3 separate regions of the Homo sapiens genome follow, and all the other regions are linked to region 1. Evidence: promoter capture Hi-C in 16 types of primary human blood cells and fetal thymus (Javierre and others, 2016). All regions are on one chromosome and are shown on one strand. The core of a region is centred on a gene start or on the middle of the fragment in contact, and the rest is flanking DNA. Distances in the headings are between cores, read along the strand shown.

The links. The method cuts DNA at HindIII sites, captures the fragments that hold promoters and counts their contacts. A CHiCAGO score of 5 or more calls a contact.
Region 2: a fragment that was not itself captured here is called in contact with the fragment with the promoter of SERP2 in region 1 in 10 of 17 cell types (naive B cells, total B cells, fetal thymus and 7 more); the score reaches 8.6 in naive B cells.
Region 3: a fragment that was not itself captured here is called in contact with the fragment with the promoter of SERP2 in region 1 in 2 of 17 cell types (naive CD8 T cells and total CD8 T cells); the score reaches 5.8 in naive CD8 T cells.

The regions. Positions count from the first base shown.
Region 1 is chr13:44,372,340-44,375,758 of GRCh38, reverse strand. It overlaps SERP2 (stress associated endoplasmic reticulum protein family member 2), which reads right to left and starts at 1,935. Exons shown (of 3, transcript NM_001010897.3): 1 at 1,650-1,935. The coding sequence starts at 1,733. LOC105370297 (a long non-coding RNA gene) reads left to right here and starts at 2,193. Exons shown (of 2, transcript XR_001749858.3): 1 at 2,193-2,362; 2 at 2,562-3,419. The HindIII fragment of the contact is 1,852 bases long and covers 828-2,679 here.
Region 2 is chr13:44,051,477-44,054,895 of GRCh38, reverse strand. No RefSeq gene overlaps it. Among named protein-coding and RNA genes, the nearest start is that of NRAD1, 31 kb to the right of the region's middle. The HindIII fragment of the contact is 194 bases long and covers 1,580-1,773 here.
Region 3 is chr13:44,095,144-44,098,562 of GRCh38, reverse strand. No RefSeq gene overlaps it. Among named protein-coding and RNA genes, the nearest start is that of SMIM2-AS1, 14 kb to the left of the region's middle. The HindIII fragment of the contact is 483 bases long and covers 1,696-2,178 here.

The DNA of each region.
Region 1 (3,419 bases), core at 686-3,185:
TCTTGTTTTCTTCTTACTTTTGTAATCAGATAAGCTGTCAACTGAGATCTGACAACTGAACTCCGGTTTTTTAGTTCATGAAAAAGAGCCACATGACTAGTTATTTTTCACTGTGTCAGTTAGCAGGTCTGATCCCTTGAGAAGGAAGAATTGATCTCTTAGGGATATAAAACCCTGCATGCCTTAACATCAATTATAAGTTGCTTCTCAATGTCAACCCGGGCAGCCATTTTTTTTTCCTCAGTAAAAATAGGGAAAACATAAATCAATGTGACAAAATGGTTCCAATTTGATGGCATCTTGGCATTTTGCTGCCTAATCACAACTGAGTGATATAATTCCTAAATGAGAGAATTTTAAGGATTACTTAGGTCTTGTGTATAAAGCTCTGAGTAGAGTTGAGTTATGCTTAGACTTGTGTATAAAGCTCTGAGTAGAGTTGAGTTTGGTCCTAGAGTTTCTCTGCCGTAATACTGCTTGGTTTTGCAAGAATTCTGGTGTGATGATTACAGATCTAGCTTTTTGCTTAGTTAATCAAACCAATATAGTTTCTTTGGCTAAAAGGAATTGATTCATCAAATCTGCAAGCTTTCCCAGCCAAACTCCAGGCTTCAGCTGGATTTCCACTTAACTGTACGGGGTAACAGATCCCAGGCGCCTTTGCTCATATACTTGGAGACCAACTTCGCCAAACTACCCATGCGACTCATGCCTCTGAATGTCCAAAGTCACAGGCCTCGCATTTTCTGTTGATGATAATCTGCTTTGCTAAAAGAAACTCCTGAGTGTAAGGCACAGGTTTTACTTAAAAGTCCAGTTGCAAAGCTTGAATTTACAGTTCTAGGGACACCGAATGCCTGACAATAAACTGGTCTCTAAAGTTATACCATGAGAATGAGTCTGAATTCACCAAGTGGAAAGAATAGGAATGCTGCCCTTAGACTTTAGCCTAGGGGCTGAGGGAGGTCTCGCTGGAAGAGAGGTAAAAGAGAAAAAAGAGGCTGGAGGGAATGTGGGTCCAAATCTCACTCCCCATTTTGAGCTCTTTCCACACCTCCAGTGAAACCGTCACAAAGGGGCTGGAAAGAAAACTTGATCCTGGTGCAAGTCTGTTGGGGAGGGAAGACAGGTGGAGTCCGGGAGGAGATGACAAGTGGCCTCCATTTAGCCATTGATTCATTCATTCATTCAACAAACGTTCTAGAACATACTAGGTTCCAGGCTCTGTGTCATGCAACGTTCTAGAACATACTAGGTTCCAGGCTCTGTGTCATGCAGTTGACTTAACTGGCCCCTAAGGATGAGGCTTTCCGTCTTTCTCCGGGACAAGGCCCAGCTGTCTCCCGGGCAGGGGGACAGGGGGTGCGGGTCGGGGAGGAGGGCTCCTCTGCGCCTCCCTGGTAGCCCAGGTAGCCACTCCCAGAGGGGCCACGACCAACCAGGGCCCTCTCCGCCCACGAGGACGCCAAGCAGACCGCGCCGCCCTGAACCCAGCTCTCAGCCCCCACTCTGCAGGACCCCGCAGAAGGGGCGGGCCGGGAGCCGGGAGGCCGGACCCTGCGCCGCTACCCGCCCGGCCCCGCCCCCACCTTCCGCCCCACCCCGCCGGGCTGCAGGGCTCTGCCTGGCCGGCGCCGACCCCGCCTTACCAGGGTTTTGGCTACGTTCCCCCTCTGGGTGATGTTTTTGCTGTGCTTCTCGTTAGCCATCCGGATCCGCTGTTTGGCCACCATGGCTTGTGCGCTCTGAAATGCTCCCACCTGCAAGGATTCCCCCTGCGTTAGCTCCTGCGACAGGGCCGAGCGCGTCCCGCCGAGGCCCCCGCGGCCCACCCGGGCGCTGCAGGTGGCAAGGCGTGGCCCCGAGCCCTGCGCACCCCGCTCCCCGAGCCCCGGCTAGCCGACTCCAGAGAGAGGCCGCAGCCCGGACGGAAGTAATCTCTCATCTCAGGAAACCCTTTCCGACTTCCTCGCCATCCTTCCGGTCCCCGCAGCCACCTACCCCGCGCGGCCACCGAGGCAGGCGCGACCGCACGTCCTCCCGCGCCGAGCGGCCGGAGCGCAGCGCGCAGAGCCGGGGCCCTGCAGTGTCGCGGTCCTGTAGCCGAATGCTGCGGGGCCGAAGGTTCGGGCGACCACGGCGTTTGTGAGCGCGTCGGGGACGGGGACGCGGCCCCTCCTGTGTTTGTCGGCCGGTGACCCACCCCAGCCCCGGGGAAGGGATGAGGGCGGCCGCGCTTCAGGCCGGGCCGCGCGGTCTCCCCTGCACCGCCGCCCCCTGGACGAGGGCTGGACCCAAGGCGGTGGTCAGGGACCTCAGAACACAAGTAGAACCAGTCCAGGCCCGGGCCCGCGCTGCCCGGGTATGGTCCACCAAACGAGCCTTCTCTTTAAGGGTCTCGAGAAGGGCCCCACGCTGGGGGACCCCACTGCAGAACTTTTCGTGAGGGCTGCAAGGAGGGCCGCGTTGTAAAATAAAGAGGAGACACGAAGCGGCATCCCCTGAGGGTTGGGGATCGGGCCGTGAGGATGGAGTTGGGACAGGCCTTTTTGCTTTGGTAGTTGTAGGGGTTGCATTGGAAGATGGGCCAGCGGCAGAGCGGAGCATGCAGGAAAGAGGAAGAGGCCTTGGACCTGCAGCCCAGGTCGGATTTGGTGGTTACTGTCTAAATCTGAAGCTTTGGCCTGCCTTGACTCCCCACCCACCCAGGGCAGCTTGGACCTCTCTCTAGCCACCCTTGTCCCGAGGGGTCTGAGTGTCTCCCAGACTAAACTGGGCATTTTCTGCAGTGGAAGGATAAAAATGGAAGCGTTTACGCGCCTCCCAGACACTGGTATTAGGGCTCAAGAGCTCTACAGATTGCCTGGGGAGGTAGGGGTGGAAGGGGTTCAGTTCCTCACTTGGAGTTAGCTCTTAGAAGCTCAGAAGAGTGGAGGCGAAGAGGGGACATTCAGCCTGGGAGATCTGGGGCAGCGGGAAGTGGGGATACCGGGTCGGGGTGAAGGCAAGCAGCAGCACCCCCAGCATGGGGAAGAAGGCCTGAGGCTGTCTCTGGCCACTGCATCTCTAGGCCTTCTCTTGGAGCGGGAGGTGGCTGGGTTTCCAGGGAATTTTGTGTGAGTAAAATTTTCCCATGTCATTGGAGAGTTAGGAAGAGCTCCTCTTTTGGGGCCTTTTTCCAAGCGGGTCCCCCTCACCCCGCTACAGGCTTCTTGTCACTCAGGCTTCAATAAAGGCCATTCTGGGGGCTGCTTGCTGTAACCTAGAAGACAGAATTGCCTAGGATCATTAGTAGAGTCATTTTTTTTTTTTCCTACTCTACAGGCCAATTAATTTGAAACAAGCTTCTATGGTCTTTTAACTGTTAGCATCACCACTGTTGTAACAGGACCATAAACCCAGTCTGCCCCACTCTAGTC
Region 2 (3,419 bases), core at 427-2,926, 320 kb after region 1:
TATACATAAATACACACATCTGTATATTACTCATTCTATATATGCATTTGTGTAGATATAGATATGGCTTCTCTATGTCAAACTAGCAATTACTTTTTCAGCACAAAATACCTCACTCAGCAATGATCCTCATCAATGAAATCAGATTTTGTTACATCACCGGAGAGTTCAAAAGCTATTCTCCCTTTTGTATTCTGTGCCAATAGAAAGAAACACACAAGAAGAAGACTGAACTTTAAACTTAGCAAATTTGAAATGCTGGGAGAATTTTATGCATGGTATAAATGATTTTAGATACAAATAGTGTTATTTCATGTTAATACTTCCCCAGAGCCACCATCCTTTTTTGAGTCTGCAAAGTGATTTAATTTTGATCTTTTAGAAATGTTCTTTTCTCCTGAGAAAAAAATTTGTCATGGAAACAGTGGCAAATGCAAAAAGGGTGGGCATTTACAGTTTCCCAAACTGTTAGAATTCTCAAATTCTGTCCCTGTTTTTTATGATGATGGGGGCACAAGGACAGGGATATGGACCGAGGGAGTGTTTGCACCAAGAAGAATATCTAGAAGAGAGTTCTGTACATTTCAGTCTGAATTTCACTGGGTATATGTCTTATGGGGAGAGACTAAGATGTAGAAACAGAGAGAAGAGACCACTGGTGAGAAGATGAGGCCATTCCTAAGATTTTTAATATAAATTTATAAACATACAGGTGTATGTGTATATATATATGCTTTGCACACATATGTATTTATGTGTTGTGTATACATATGTCTGTGCATGTATATGCATATACACACATATATACATACATTACATACATACACACATATGCATACTTTTTCCCACTGAAGTTGTTGAAACTCTTGAAAGTTGGACTTGAGTAATCAAAAGCAGTGCTTATTCTTTTCCATTCAGTACCAAGGAAATCATATTTACCACGGGTCCAGAAAAGTCTTTTCTCTCTTTCTCCTCCCCACTACCCACCAGTCCCCACTCCTTTTGCACATGCTATTTGGTCACTGGCCATCCCGAGTGGCTCATCTAGACAGGGGTATGTGGCCAGGAGAGGTTAGGGGTCGAGATAAGGTGGATGTTTGCTGTAAGGCAGTGCCTTCCTCTCCTTCTTAACCTGGGGTTGTGCTTCTGAGCATGTGAAATGTATTGTTCCTTAGTCCGATTTCCCAAATACAACCTGAAAATGTGAATGTAAATGCCTCTGTCCTTTAGCCAGACGTCTAGAGGGCTATCTGAGGGCCTCAGAAGTAAAACTGACCTCCCCAGGGAAACTAGGCTCTCAATTCCTTTCTTAATTCTCTGTAGGATAATAAAACATGAAGTGGAAGATCTTCTAGACCAGCACCTTAAATTTGCAGATGAGAAAGTTGGAACCCAGAAAGGCTGAGAGGCTCAAGGTCTCACAACTGTTTATGCTCAACTGGGAAATGAATTTGTTTCTCTGGCCCATCAGGTCAACATTCTTTCCACTCAGCTATGCCGCCTCCTACCTCCTGAAAAGATTCTAGCAGGACCCTCTGATGAAAAGGACCTTATCTTTTTATATCTGCTGTTTAAAGCTTTTTTTTAAAATCATCGCACGATTTTATGAGTTAAGTTATGTACATAAACAAATACTATTACTTATTACTTGTTTACTATCGCCCTTCTTTTGGACATCAGAAAACCGAGGGTCTGAGTTGCAGCAACTCCCACAGAATCTCAAAAATGCACCCAGACTGCTCCTGCTTGCAGGACAAACACTCAGTACAAGCTTCCGATGAGGAATGTGGCTGTTGCAAGAACAGGACGCCACGATTCAATCCCTTCCCACGGCTGGCCCTGGCTGCCCACTCACATCAAGCAAGGGCACAGCATCCCTTCCGACAGCCTGACCCCCGCCCCCAGATAAACCGACATGTGGATTGCCAAAGGCATTTATATGCGATGGTGCTAAGACTGCTTGACGCTAACACCACACTTTGATCATTCAGTCAAATCAAAAAGCATTTATTAAGCATCTGTGTGAGGCTCCCTGCCGGGGCTTCTCTTTGTATCCCTAGCATTCACACTTCCCTGCTTTTCTTCTGTATCTCTTCACCCCTGCCCAAGAAAACTCCCCTATCCACAGGAATCTCACTGCTGGTGTTATCATGTCTTACCCAGAGTGGGATCCCATTTTGGTTCCTCCCAAGATGCTATTCAATGTCCAGGATGGAACTTTGAGAGTGGACCGGTCCTCTCTCCATTGTAAAATCTACCCATCCATCTCTGCTTCCTGGAGATTCTGTGTGAGGAGCACCTTAGTTAGGAATCAGAGCAAATGGCGATGAAATTTCAGTCTGTGTTCTTCTTTCAGAATGCAGAGTGAACATTTAAGAGGGTTTTTAGAAAAGCAGTTTACAGCCAGTAATTGGAAGCGTTGAAGTGTTTTTGCAAGACCAGTATCTCAGATTACAGATTTATGATTTGCTTGAAAATAATCATTTATTTTAGGCTTGAACTTTAAAAAGAAAAAAATAAAAGCTTAGAATGATTTTCTTCAAGTTTTCTATGACATTCTTTACATCAGGAAGAGATGAGGGAAGGCAAGATGGAGGTTTTAGAGAGAACGGGGTTCCAATGTTATTTTCCCCTTGGTTCATTTATGAGACTACATTTTCCTAGCTGCATACGCTATTTCCATTGTATGACTCACACAGACAATTTACTACATTTAAAATTGTGTCAAATTCTTTCTGAAAAGCTTGGGTCAAATACACATACTATGTATACAGTTGGAAATTCTTCCTCATAGATCCAGCTCATGGTATGGATGTTGTATTTGTGTCCTCGTAGCCATGGCAACTAGAAAAGGGTTAAGCCAGGGCCTCAGAAAACCCAGAGGCTGTGCAGTAAAATATCATATGTGTGTATATACTTCCTAAAATATACTACTCAAATATGGATTAAGAAATCTTAAAACCACTGTCTTAAAATTAATTTTTCATTCCTAGTATGCATGTTATTGCCTAAAAAGGATACTCTCAAAACAATCTCTTTCACCTCACTCCTTTTCTCTCTAAATTGTCATCTAATGACCATTTATCTCAAAAGACAGACTATGTAAATCCATGAGAAGTGCTTTGGTTTTTAGATATGGATGAGAGAAATACCAATGAGAATATGAATGAAGTTGTTTTCTGGCTGAAACAAACTGTCTTTTTTAGATCTCTCTTTTAAATCCATTTATATGAGAGTAATAAAACATTCTTCTCCATTTATTTAAGAACTTACTAAATAAACTTGGGCAACCCTGAACAATGCCAAGATGTTAAACATTCACCAGCTCTAAGAATTCAGACTCTTCTTTGTGTTGGCTGATGGCCCTCAGGTCCCTGACTACCCCTTTTAATTTTCTTACACACTTTACCCTGTGAGAT
Region 3 (3,419 bases), core at 688-3,187, 280 kb after region 1:
CAGGTGTCATATGAAAACAGAGGCCAATCAGCTCTTCCAAAGCAATTTCTTGTTAGAACACCAGGGTGGGTGATGCCATTTCTTTTGTTCCGGCTGGTTGGGACCCTGTTGGCAGGTCATTTTGAAATTCTTTACATAAGAAAGAACACAGTCGGCCGGGCACAGTGGTTCATGCCTGTAATCCCAGCACTTTGGGAGGCTGAGGCGGGTGTATCACGAGGTCAGGAGTTCGCGACCAGCCTGACCAACATGGTGAAGCCCCATCTCTACTAAAAATACAAAAATTAGCCAGGCATGTGGTGCATGCCTGTAATCCCAGCTACTCGGGAGGCTGGGGCAGGAGAATTGCTTGAATCTCGGAGGTGGAGGTTGCAGTGAGCTGAGATTGCACCACTGCACTCCAGCCTGGGCAGCAGAGCAAGACTCCATCTCAAAAAAAAAAAAAAAGAACACAGTGAAGATGACAGCCTGAAGTGAAGTCTATTTATATCCAGAAAAAAAAGGCATATATTAATGATTATTTCTCTATTTTTTGGAATATTGACCAATAACTTTATGAGGATGTATCAGGCTTTTTTTGTTCAATACATTTTTCCTTCTTCTGTCTCATGTCACGTAATTCTTTCAGAATTTAAGTTATAAGAAATTGCATTTCTATTCATTAAGGTCTGATAAGAAAGTGTTATGGTATCTGATCTGAATGAGGATTGTAAGATTGTTTATGTGGTTAAAATTATGTGTTCTTCCTTAAAAGAGCTTGAATTTTAAGGTTTTGCCCTAAGTCATTATTATTGAGTCTACCTAAAGTTTCAACAGTTGCAGAACTGAAGAGAAGATCTGCTTCCTCACTTGGAATAGAGTCCTGAATTTTATAACTATATGAAGAATATAGTTGGAGACAAATGATTTACAACTATTTCGTAAGCAGTGGTAGATGTTCAGGAACTTATTTCTATGGTTTCTTATATTTCTGATGTGTTTGAGGATCATCCCTTAGAAGTCTATAAAGTATCAGGCTATATATATCTAGCCTAGAACTGGGTGGAACAATGAACCATGACTGCTTAATATCAATGCTGCTTAACATAAAAGCACCAACAAATTTTGAAGCAGGGAGGAACTTAAGCTATTGTGCTTAAGCCACTGCTCTCTGGTGGGCCAGTGATTTAGGATCCTGACTTATTTTAATCCTTCCACCTCCCATTATCTATAAGGAAGCAAAGGCACAGAGGGAAGTGTCCTGCCAAAAGTCACACAATTTGTATTTTAGAATTCACCTTCCTACAAGTTCTTCTTCAGAAAAAAAACTGAGTGTGTGAGCTAATCTTTATCTAACAGACTGATTTCACATATTACAAAGATAAAGTCTTGGATGATAGCACCAGACAGAACTATCCTTCATGAAGTTCCTCTTTGTGGGCTCTGGAAATTGGATGTGGGCTCTGTGAATTGGATGGCCATTTTTATTTCCTTTTTGTATTCTTGCAGACTCTGTCATAAAGAGGAAGCCATCAGGTTCTTGGATAATTGCTGAATGGAACTAAGGGAAATGAGAGGAGAGAAGCATCTCAGAGCATGTTTGGACTTGCTGCATGCCTTGGACCCTGCTACACACTGATAACTGAATATTGAGCCCTTGAGCTGATAAACAAGGGTCTTTGACTCGAGAGTGTTTTGCCATCCTGTTTGCAAGCTTTGTGTTTGTTTCCTTTCCTCCAAGAGTACATTTTCTTACTCCTCATATGGCCCCAAACCACACATTGAGAACTATGGCCTAGAGTTTGTGATTAATGGAACCCTATCTCCACTCCAACCTCCACTCATTAACCAATGATCTCTACTGGTGCCTGTCACATTTACAAATATGTGAGAGGCCTTAATTTAAATCTGGAACTAAGCTAGTGATTTCAATTACAATAGTCTGACTCATTCCGACATTATCATTGGGTAAAATAGCCTCAGTTTCCTTATCTGTAAAATGAATTCAATGTTGGCAACACTGGTCTTAAAGTAAAATAACTTTAAGAAAATTGCTGAAGGCTATGGCGTATGACTTAGTGTATTATTATTTTATAATGGAGAGTTTTACCTACCAAAGAAAGGAGTTATCAGCTGCCCGTTGCATTGCTGGTAATTTATTATTAATGATTTCTAAAAACTCTAACATTGCAGGAAGCTTCAAGCATCATTACTGCATTACATTTTGCTTTTGTGTTAATGGACAGCTATTTTTCACTGTCATTTTCATGAGTAGAAAGAGAGCACAGATGAACAATTTTAACAAATATAGGACAATAGAAGACATATTCCAGACTTCAGCATTTATTAATAGAATGATCAAATTCAGCCTTATCAGAATGGAGAACTTCCTGGTCACAGACAGTAATCTATATACCTCCTTCTCACCAGTGCCCTCACCTCGTTAACCCACTCAGAGGCAAGGGTCAGGAAACACTGCACTTAGTACTTTTGTGCTTAAAAAATTAAAGAATCCAAATTATCACTTTTTGCTTTCTACATAGTTGAGAAAAAAAAGTAATGTTACAATCTCAGACCATGGAGGAACTTCTATTCACTTCAACTGAACTTCTTTATGGATTAGAATGAGGAAGCCCTTTGATGTCACCAAAGAGGTCTTTTCCTTCTAGAAGGCTTTTAAAAAATCATGTTCCAGGGAGAGTTCTCTGTTTTTCAGACAATTCTTGGAAGTAAAGACCTCCTTCTCCCCCACAATCTGGAATAATCAACTGGGCTTGACAGCCCAGTTGCACATACTACAGAAGCAAAACTATCCTAACCCCCAATGTTAAAAAATGGAAGCAATTCTTTTCTATTGAAGTCACAAGTCCCCATTCTACATCTTCAGCTTGTATTCTCTCCCGATTCCTAATATACCATTCATAGTAAAAATGCATGTGCCTAAGGATGGTTCTGTCTGAAGATGCTATCAGTCAGCAGAAACAAAGACATTGGGGGTCTCGTTTTATCTTCTTGTTGCAGGTAGTTAGACATAGACATGAGGGAGGCAAGACAGGGCTTTTCTCTGCCACCCACTAGGAATGTCAGGTGATGGTTCAACAATTATCATACTGCCTCTCTAAAAAATGTGGCCAGAGCCGGGGAGAGACAGTCTCCAGCTGATCCACAGCTGTTAACATTAAAGTGTTCATTGAATGCCGATGTCAGGGAGAAGCAACTTCCTGGGCATACGCATTAAGAGACAAAATGGTAGAATATGACCTTCTGGGGGCACTCCACTAGAAAAGGGAAGAAAGCCTCAGATGGCCATGCATACAACTTCCTAAACACCCTGTGTGTGCTCACTTCCCAAGGGTAAGGAGGGTACTACACATGTGGGCAGCTCACCTCAAGAGAAAAATCACGGGAAAGGGATGCAAGATGGCAGCCTATAAAGTCCT